Regions from separate parts of the Homo sapiens genome. Here region 1 is linked to region 2. The links are contacts of gene promoters, found by promoter capture Hi-C in blood cells and fetal thymus (Javierre and others, 2016). All regions are on one chromosome and are shown on one strand. The core of a region is centred on a gene start or on the middle of the fragment in contact, and the rest is flanking DNA. Distances in the headings are between cores, read along the strand shown. Region 1 overlaps SNX12 (sorting nexin 12). Region 2 holds the start of NLGN3 (neuroligin 3).

Region 1 (4,760 bases), core at 779-3,278, 85 kb after region 2:
GTTTACCTCACCTTTTATTTTATTTTTATTTACTTATTTATTTATTTGAGACAGAGTCTCACTCTGTCACCTAGGCTGGAGTGCAATGGTGTGATCTCGGCTCACTGCAACCTCCGTCTCCTGGGTTCAAGTGATTCTCCTGCCTCAGCCTCCTGAGTAACAGGGATTACAGGCGCCGGCCACCATGCCCAGCTAATTTTCATGTTTTTAGTAGCGATGGGGTTTCACCATGTTGGCCAGACTGGTCTCGAACTCCTGACCTTAAGTGATCCACCTGCCTTGGCCTCCCAAAGTGTTGGGATTACAGGCGTGAGCCACCGCACCCAGCTCACCTTTTATAATGGGTACCATGATGTGGTGCCAATTGTGTGGTGGGCTGACTGGACAGTAAAACTCCATTCCTTTGAGTAGGATTCTGATCCTGTGTGTCAGGGCCTGAGAAAGCACTGCATGTTGGTTATATCTAGGGATTTCCCTGTCTTGCCCCTCTATCCCCCGTCCCCTTTACAATATTAGGGTTGAGGTGGTACCCTACTGCTGTCCTCTACTGGCTTGAACCTCAGGGCTGACCTTGCCCTTCTTCCCCTGTCCACATCCCCATCCCTCTGCTAATTCTCTCTGATTCTGAATACTACTGATAACCATCCTGGTTTCTTTATAGAATTGCTGGGCACCCACTGGCTCAGAATGAACGCTGCCTACACATGTTCCTGCAAGAGGAGGCAATTGACAGGAACTACGTCCCGGGGAAGGTGCGCCAGTAGGAGCCCCTCTCACCACCTGCCCTCTACTTTCCTGCTGAAATGACATTGGTTTTTACACTAAGCCTCTCTCTGTCTTTGATCTGAAGTTGGCTGCCCATCTCCTGGCCTGATAGACTGTCTGGCATTGTGCTCCCTGGTACCTGACTACACCATGTGGGCACTCTGCTAGGATCCTCTTCTCTGAGGAGAGGTGGGAACCCACAGGCAGATGCCCTTTGCTTGGGGTTGGGGTGGGTGGGTGGGGGGATTAGACTGGAAGGCAATTTCTTGGGCATTTACCCATGCCAGAAGGCTAACCTGGGGGGAGGGGGGCGCTTGTGCTGGTGAGGCACTTGGATACATACTGATGCTGCAAGTTCAGGGGATTTTTCTTACTCTTAGGTTTAACCAAGAACACTGAGCAGGGAAAAACCCTGCCTTTCCTAACTGCATGTATTTTTTCCTTTTTGGAAAGGTGGTAGAGACTCAGAAGCTTTCCTTGTTTTCTTCAGGCCTGCTCCCAGTTTTCTTAACAGTTTCTTTTGTTGCTTTCTCTCTCCCTTGTTGCTTTCCATGGCAGTAATCCTCCTAGAGTCCAAGCAGTCTGTTGTATGGAGCAGGGTGTGTGGGTTTTCTGGGCCCATCATTATGGCTGCTTCAGAGTCAGAAGAAAGCCATAGGGCAGTAGGGGAGCTCCTATTGCCTAGCCCCTCTCCCTTTGTGGCTCCCACTCTAGCTGCCTATTTTTGCTCATCAGCTGGTGAGTCAGTATGGGCCAGCAGTTCTCCCTCCCTAAGCCCTTGCTACTTTATGGGTTAGCTTTGCAGGTTTGGTGGCTTGAGGGGTGGGGGCAACTCACCACTGCCAGGTAACTCCCTGAAGGGTGGGAGTGGATTATCTTCTAGGCTCTTACCCGCGGTAGGGAAGGGCATCAACACTGTCTTCCTTCCATTCTCCTTTCCCCCATCCCATTTAGTGCTGCCACAGGGCAGAAGCACACAAACCAACCACACAGTCTCTGACTTCTCCTAAGCACTTTGAGTTGTTGAATGGGGCTCAGGGGCAAGAGTTTTTGCTGCCCTCCCCAGCGTGGTCACAGGGTTATTGAACTGCCTGCACTTGTTTCTCATGCAACTCCAGCATTTTCCCCAGAAGTTGAACTATGGATAGCAGCTTGGTATGGATTTCCTAAATCTTAACATTTGAAGCAGCTTCTTGAGGCTGGCAACTATCCTGGTTTCTGTCTTGGAGGGGGTGGTTTGTTTGCTGGGGCCCAACGTCTGTCCCAAGTGGTGGGGTGAGAGTAAGTTAACTTTGGTGCCAGGTGAGAGGTGGGGGCTCTTTGCTTAGACTCCCTATCATGGAAAGATTGGAGTTTTCTATGCAGGGCACTGTGGAAAAGGATTGCTGATTCTGACTGACCCTGATCAGAGAGATTAGGATTGTATTTTGACATAGGATTTGGAACCCATCTAAATGTTGAAGTTCCCTGAGACAGCTCTCCAGCTGCTGAGCCTGCGCCAGGGGCTAAGCAGCCCCTAATGAGAGGCTCTGCTCCCTTTCCCACCTCGCCAATGTTGTTGTTGCTGCCTTTTTGATTTGTATCCTCTGTTATAGACATTTTTTAAAAACGATTTCCTCTTTCATTGTGCACAAGTGCTGAGAGTCTGAGGCCCCATTTCTGCTGTGTATATATATCCTGACTCGGGGCTTTTATTCAGCAAACTGTTCATTCTTCTGTCAGACAATGTCATATTCAACTCTGTTCATATTAAACCACTGTGAAGCAAGCCTCTGTTTTCCTGCTTAAGTTGTAAATTTAGTATTCTTTAGTGTCTAGGATATGCTGGGTATTATGCAGAAATCATACAGTGTGGCCAGTGTCCTGAGGTAATGTTTTGCATTTAAATTTTTTTAGAAAGCAGAATCTTAACTTATCTTAATGATATTTACCTATCCTTTTTGCAACTCACAACTGACTTTGTCACAGAGGTAATGCATCTGCTTGCAGGAAGTAGCTGTAGGCTCAGTACCTGTTGTTTGAGTCAGATTTAGCAGATTTGGTTTTTAAGCTTGTGGGTTTGTGCTAATTTGGGCAGAATATATTTATTATATATGTGTGTGTGTATGTGTGTATGTGTGTGTCTGCATATGTAATACATGTACATAAACACACATGCATGTGTTCATCCTCTGACACACCCACACAACACCAACAAACATTTCTTCTATAGGCTTTTTATCTCAACTGACACTGTTTTTTTTCCCAAATAAATTTGACACAGGCAGAAAGGTGGGTGAACTCTCAGAACTTTTGGTGGGTGGATATTCATCTGACCAGTGAGCTCTGAAATGGTTTCCCTACACAGAGTGGGTTTTGGCAAGGGTTGGAATGAGGGGAGGTAGCAGTCTTGTCATTTAGAAAATCAAAGCTAGTTTTGATGTAGCTCAACATGGAAAGAAGGTACAGAAAGTGATGTGTTCAAAACATTAGCAAATTAAGGCTGAATGTGGTTGGCTCATGCCTGTAATCCCAGCATTTTGGGAGGCTGAGGCAGGAGGATTGCTTGAGCCCAGGAGGTTGAGACTAGCCTGGGCAACAGAGTGAGACACTGTCTCTACAAAAAATTTCAAAAGAAAAAAAAAAAGGAAATTAATGTTACTTAGCAGTATTTGGTTCTAAGTAGAAGAGTGGGGGCTGTGAGGAAGTTGAGGTTTTTGGTAGTTCATGAATGAGATGACTAAAAATATCTGAGGGGATAGGGAAGAATGGGTATTTCTGTGAAATAAAGGAAAGGAAGGGTAAAGAGAGATGCAACCTTCATAGGCAGCAGTGTTAGAGAATGAACTGCAGAATAAATAGAAAAGCAGCTATAAAATAAAGTGTTAACAAAAATTTGGACAGATGACAACTCATTTAACAAGTGCTAATAGTCTTCTGTGTGTCTGGTCCTATGCTAACAGCAGGGCTGGGGATAGGGTGGAGTGGTTGTGGTACAAGTAAAATATGATATTACATTCTCTTTTTTCGTAGACCTTAAGAGTTCAGTTGAAGAGATGTTTAGCTGGGCGTGGTGGCTTATGCCTGTAATCCCAGCACTTTGGGAGGATTGCTTGAGCCCAGGAGTTGGAGACTAGCCTGGGCAACCGAGTGAGATCTCATCTCTACAAAAAAAAAAAAAAAAAAAAATTAAAAATCTGGCCAGGTATGGTGGCACATGATAGTCCCAGCTACTTGGGAGGCTGAAGCCGGAGGATTGCTTGAGCCCAGGAGGTTGTGGAGTGAGCCATGCAGTGAGCCATGATTGTACCACTGCACTCCAGCCTCAAAACAAAATGAAGAGATGTCTATACAAGGCAGGAAAATGCTAGAGACAGAGTAAGAGATTCAGGCACATCTGGTTAGTTGTCCAGTCTTTTTCTTTTTTAAAAATATCAGGCCAGGTAAATCTCCCTTGGATGTCAAATTGGCCATTTTGGCACATTAACTGGGCCAGGCAAGAATCCTAAATCCAAACCCTCTTACCCATTAACACTGAGGAGAAGCATACTTTTCTTTGATAAGGAATTCTAATTTACATGGGTATTTGCATGTTTACCACTAATTAATCCCCTTTATCTATAGTGCAGAAAGGGCTTAACCTTATGCTGGAACCTGGGGGACAGAGGCTAACGAAAAATTTTGAACATAGCTAGACCCAAAAGAAGTCTAAATCTTCACATTCCAAAGATGCCTTATCTACCCTTTGACCCATTCTTTGAGACAAGGAATTAAGCCAGTAAAGGTGGGAGAGGTGGATAACATTCAGGCTTCTCTGGAGTTGATAGTTATCCTACATGAGATACTTCTATGTTGAAGATATTCCTACTTCTATGTTGAAATATATGCTGTAATAATTTAAGTAAAATTACTTTCTTTTGTGGAAATGTAGAACAGCTGCTCACTGAAATGGATATTTCTTCATATCCTTGAAAACTGTTGAGTCACCCTTAGTATTCTCTTCTTAGATATAATAA
Region 2 (4,598 bases), core at 1,979-4,478:
GGCACACTGGGGGAAAGTGTGTGGCGTTCCGGATGCCCGACCAGGATGGGGGTGGTTCAGGGGGCAGGAAACGTTTCTCGCCGATCGGGGGAGCTGCGTAGGGCACCCCCAGGTATTGGTCCACAGGCCCCAGGATCTCACTGGGCAGTGGTACTCGGGCACCCCTTAGCTTCCCAAAGTGAGTGTTGACTGTGGGTGCTGGGGCCTGGGTACTGGCCCTCAGCGCCAAACTGAGGAACCACAGGGTGAGGCACAGGCTCCTGCCAACCGTGGGCTTGGGGCTCAGGGACAGCGAGGGCGGGCCAAGCCGCAGCCACATGTTCCGGGCAGGGGGACTGGCAGGAGAGGCAGACTCCAGGGTCACAGCATCAGCCCAATAGGCAGCCCCTTCATGGCCACACTGACTTGAACCTCAAAACTGAGCTCTCGAGGGACACCTACAGGTGCCCAGCAATGTAGAGAGCAGGTCGTCCAAGCACCACAGCTTCAGAAAGGGGACTCCCTCAGGGCCAGACAGGCCTGTGGAAAGAGGGAAGTATGCGTCATCCAAGATGGTCTGGGAGGGCAACAGAGTTGGTCTTTGGGGGCCCTGCTGGGCTTGGGCTATTCTCTTATAGGTAGGAGAGGTTTCACATGCCCAGGGGCCCAGGGACTGTGATCCCACAGATGATCCACTGCCAATCAGAACCATTCTATGTGCCTGGCCATGGCTGGAAAATCCAAGGGGTTTGACAGTGACAGTTGTTGCCACTGCAAGTTCCCGGTGCCCAACTTCAATTCTACAGCCAAAGGGGTTCATCAGGGTCGGCTGGAGCCAGAATAGCATGTGACAGCCAGGGGGTGGGGAGAAACAAAAATGGAGCTCAGGTCCCTGGGCATGCTGCTTGAACAGAGCTGTGTAGCCCTTGGGACCTGGTAAGCCCACACAGGGACCTCCACTTCAGGACAGGGTGGGATTGTCAACCTCACTCCGGGACACTAAGACACAAGAACAGAAAGCAGCAAATCGGCAGAGTCCCACAGAGAGACTCCCTCACCCTCAGGCAGGGCAGAGGGCGGGACAGCCATTCACGGGAGTCCTCCTCGGACCCTCCTGCGCCCCTCCTGTACATTTCTCCTCAGCCCTCACTGCTCCCAAATCCTTAAGCCTTGGTCCTTTCGGTTGGCTCTCTCTTAATTCACACCGAATTCCAGAAGTGAGGCAGAAAGAGTTCTGCCTAGCACCCTAGGCATTGTGGATGCTCTTCCGGTGTATTATAAAATAAACAACGGAGCATGGGGAACACATATTCAGAGACTCATAGAAATAAACTCACAAAGACTCAAAGAGGGAATGAGAGAGACCAAGCCAGGATCACAGACACTGCGATATTCACTCACAGAGACATATATTCCAAACCCACAGAGATCCCCTCATATAGTCCCACATTCTGAGACAGAGCACCTCACACAGCCAGAGCCTCACAGAATGATACATTCAGAGACACACATAGAGACTTACTGAAATATAATCACACATACCCGCATAGGTAAATATCCAGACACATGCAGCATAATGGTGACACATAGGTGGAGACAGAAACAGAAATAGCAACACACTCAGACACATAGGCCTTCTGACACAGTTACACAGTCAACACATAGACACAGGCACACACAGATACTCCCGCATGCTCCCGCACACACACGCACACACACGCACACCCACGCCACATGCACATTTAGTTTTCCTCCATTTCTCCCGCCTTCCCAGATTGCAGGCCTGCTCCTTTAAGAACTGGCTGAAGGGGTGGGGGAGGGAGATTGGGAACGCCCGGCAATCAGCCACCACGAGAGGGGAATGAGAATGTGTGTGTGTGTGTGTGTGTGTGTGTGTGTGTGTGTGTGTGTGTGTGTCTGTGTGTGTGTGTGTGTGAGAGAGAGAGAGAGAGAGAGAGAGAGAGAAGAAAAAGGAAGAGGAGGGAGGGCGGGTAAAGTGGCTAAAGGGGTGGGGGCTCAGAGGAAATGAGGAAATGGGGAGCAAAGTATGGGGGGTAAGATCCCAGACACTGCCCAGAATGCACCCGGGTGTGGGGAGGAGGGGAAGGGGAAGGAAGGGGTAGGAGTAGGGAGGTGGGGCAGGAGGGAGTGGGTGGGTGTGTGTATTGGGGGGGGCATAGTCCGCAGCTGAGTTCACACAATCCCCCCATTCACCGTCTCCATGGCAACTCCAGGGCACAGACCGCTCATTCACACAGCTTCCCCACCAGCAACCCCCCCACATTAACCCCCTCGGTGCTGCCCCCAACCCACAAATTCCATTAACCCTTTCGGGATGCCCTCCTCTCCAGTAACCCTTCGGCGCCAAATGCCAAATTCTCCTTTGAGTCAATTCCCTGCAGCCCCTCCCCCGTGAACACCTAGACAATCGGACCGACCCCCAAACGCCCTCTGTACCCTAGGACCCACTGTGAATCCCCAAGGCCAAGATCTCCATCCTGGTCCAACTTGCAATTTGGGAGAAGACAAGGGGAGGCAGCAATGCCGGGGATGAGAATGGCATCTCGGGGTACTTTTGGGGCTGCAGCGGTGCTGGGCGCGGGGCATTGTGCAGGAATGGACCAATATTGAGAACTGCAGTATTGGGGGCTACGAGGGCTTGGAATGGATTGGGGGATGGAGTTGCACTGGAATGGGGGAGGATAGGATAAAGGCCTCCATTGGGTGGGGGGGCTGCAGATAGTGGGGGAGGGAGCCTGGCTATGAGATGCTATGATGGAAGGGGGATGGGGCTGCACTGCAGGGGAGGGGGGACTGGCAATGTGCAATCCCGGGATGGGGCTGGGGGCCCTCAATAGGGGTATTTTGATGAGCATGCGGGATGGGCTGTGGAAATAGAGGGACCATGGGCGGGAGGATGTTAGGGATGCGGGATTTAGGGAGGAGGTAGAAGGGAGAACAGAAGCGGGGGAGGATCGGGGGTCAGGGGTACCGATGGAGAACATGGGGTTGAGAGGGATGGGGGCCACTGGCTGGGGAGTGGAGGAGCCTGGGATTGGGAGGGGTTAGGATGGGGGCAAGGTATGGGCAGCTAGAGGATGAGAGACCGGGGCAGGCGGCCTCACCTGTTCCCCGGGCTGCTGCAAGCGACTGAACCGGGCCACGGACCACCCATATCGCCTCCAGGCCAAGGGCTCCGCACCCGAATCCCCGAGATCAGCTCTCCGGCAGCCTGGCTGCTGTGCCCGCGCACCGAGGGGGCGCGCTGCGCGTTCCCGGACACGGGGGGGCGCGGTCCCTGCCATTAACTCCTTTTGTGCCAGAGATGGCTCAAGTCCTGGGGCATGGCCCAATTCCCCCCATGCTCAGGCACGTTCCGCTCCCTCTCTCTCACGCGGGCGCGCACACACACCTCAGATTGCAAGCTATCAGACAGGTGATCTTCCAGGGCAGCTAGCCCAAACTTTACCCGCAAAGCTTGAGACTTTGTCCCAAAGGGAGAAACTGAGGCACTGCCTGCAGGAACCCTCAGTCATACTACACAAAAACACACCTCCACCTCAATCAGCATCCCTTATTTCTCAGCGCCAGCACTACCCAAGCAGCAACCAGTGGGGCCACTCTGCTCTCATCCTGTCACTCTCCCAAAGGTCAATGCTGTTCCCTTCTGCTGCTTCTGCTGGGGCATGTCAGACTGTCAGCATGCCAGTTGTCTGACCATTTCAGTCTCTCCCCTCCAGGTTCAGTGTCTTTGTGTCTTGTGTTTTTGTATGTGGCGCACCTGCCATTTGTTTAGCAACCCCCAAGCCCCTCTGAATGTCCCTCATCCCAGCCAAGCCTGTACTCCTGTGGCTCCTCAGAATGTTTATGTCAGGATAGAATAAGTGAGAAGAAAGCTTCAGTCATGTTTGCCTTTACACTGTTGGGGAGTTCCATTCCTTGTGCACGCAACTCTTAAACTTGGTAAGTCCCATATAAGCAAGGGCTTCGTGGGCCTCAAAGAGGGCTATTTTATTTTTTATAACTTGGGTACTGATTGGTGCTCCTGGTTTTGCCAGCACACTAGACACTTCCCAGTAATAGGGTGCAACTATGGCTTGCATGTTATCCTTAAGTTGTCAAATCATCCTGTACCACCCACTCACAAGGCTGAGGCTGATCCTCTTCCAGCCCTAGCTAGGCAGGGCAGAAGACTCCAAGACTCCATTGTAGTAAACCAGTTGGCTCTCCTGGACAGCCTTGGATCTAGAACTCAAACTGGAAAGCAAGAGGGCGAGAATGGCCCTGCCGCAGCTCCAAATGTGACTCTGGGGCAACAGTTTTGAGTTTTCTCTACTGTAAAATGGGAGCGAGCAAGTCATCCTGGGTAACTGCCAAGGTGGGTCACGTGAGAACAGGCAGTTCTGGCAGTAGGGCAGAGAGAGAAAGGGTGCTTATTTTTACTGGTCTCTCTTCCTCCTAGAACCAAACGGTCCTTCCACGACCTATTCTATGATGGCACATGCCAATGGAGGGCAATTTTTCATCCAGGAATGTGACTCTCAGGGAAGTTCTCTGTCCTATGAAAGGTATGCCACTTGGTGCATGATGGGGACCACACAAGATGACAAGAAGGGTAG

Evidence for each region. Contacts are between HindIII fragments. The CHiCAGO score rates a contact against its expected background, and 5 or more counts as called.
Region 1: a contact is called between a fragment that was not itself captured here and the fragment with the promoter of NLGN3 in region 2, in 2 of 17 cell types (monocytes and total B cells). The highest score is 5.7, in monocytes.

Annotation. Positions count from the first base shown.
Region 1 is chrX:71,057,020-71,061,779 of GRCh38, reverse strand. It overlaps SNX12 (sorting nexin 12), which reads left to right. Exons shown (of 4, transcript NM_013346.4): 4 at 662-2,533. The coding sequence ends at 764. Among named protein-coding and RNA genes, the nearest start is that of SNX12, 8.9 kb to the left of the region's middle. The HindIII fragment of the contact is 1,579 bases long and covers 1,239-2,817 here.
Region 2 is chrX:71,143,471-71,148,068 of GRCh38, reverse strand. It overlaps NLGN3 (neuroligin 3), which reads right to left and starts at 3,228. Exons shown (of 8, transcript NM_181303.2): 1 at 3,105-3,228; 2 at 1-519. The coding sequence starts at 319. LOC124905197 (a long non-coding RNA gene) reads left to right here. Exons shown (of 4, transcript XR_007068262.1): 4 at 4,442-4,598. RefSeq lists enhancers at 1-35, 36-582 and a silencer at 2,157-2,412. The HindIII fragment of the contact is 4,718 bases long and covers 1-3,458 here.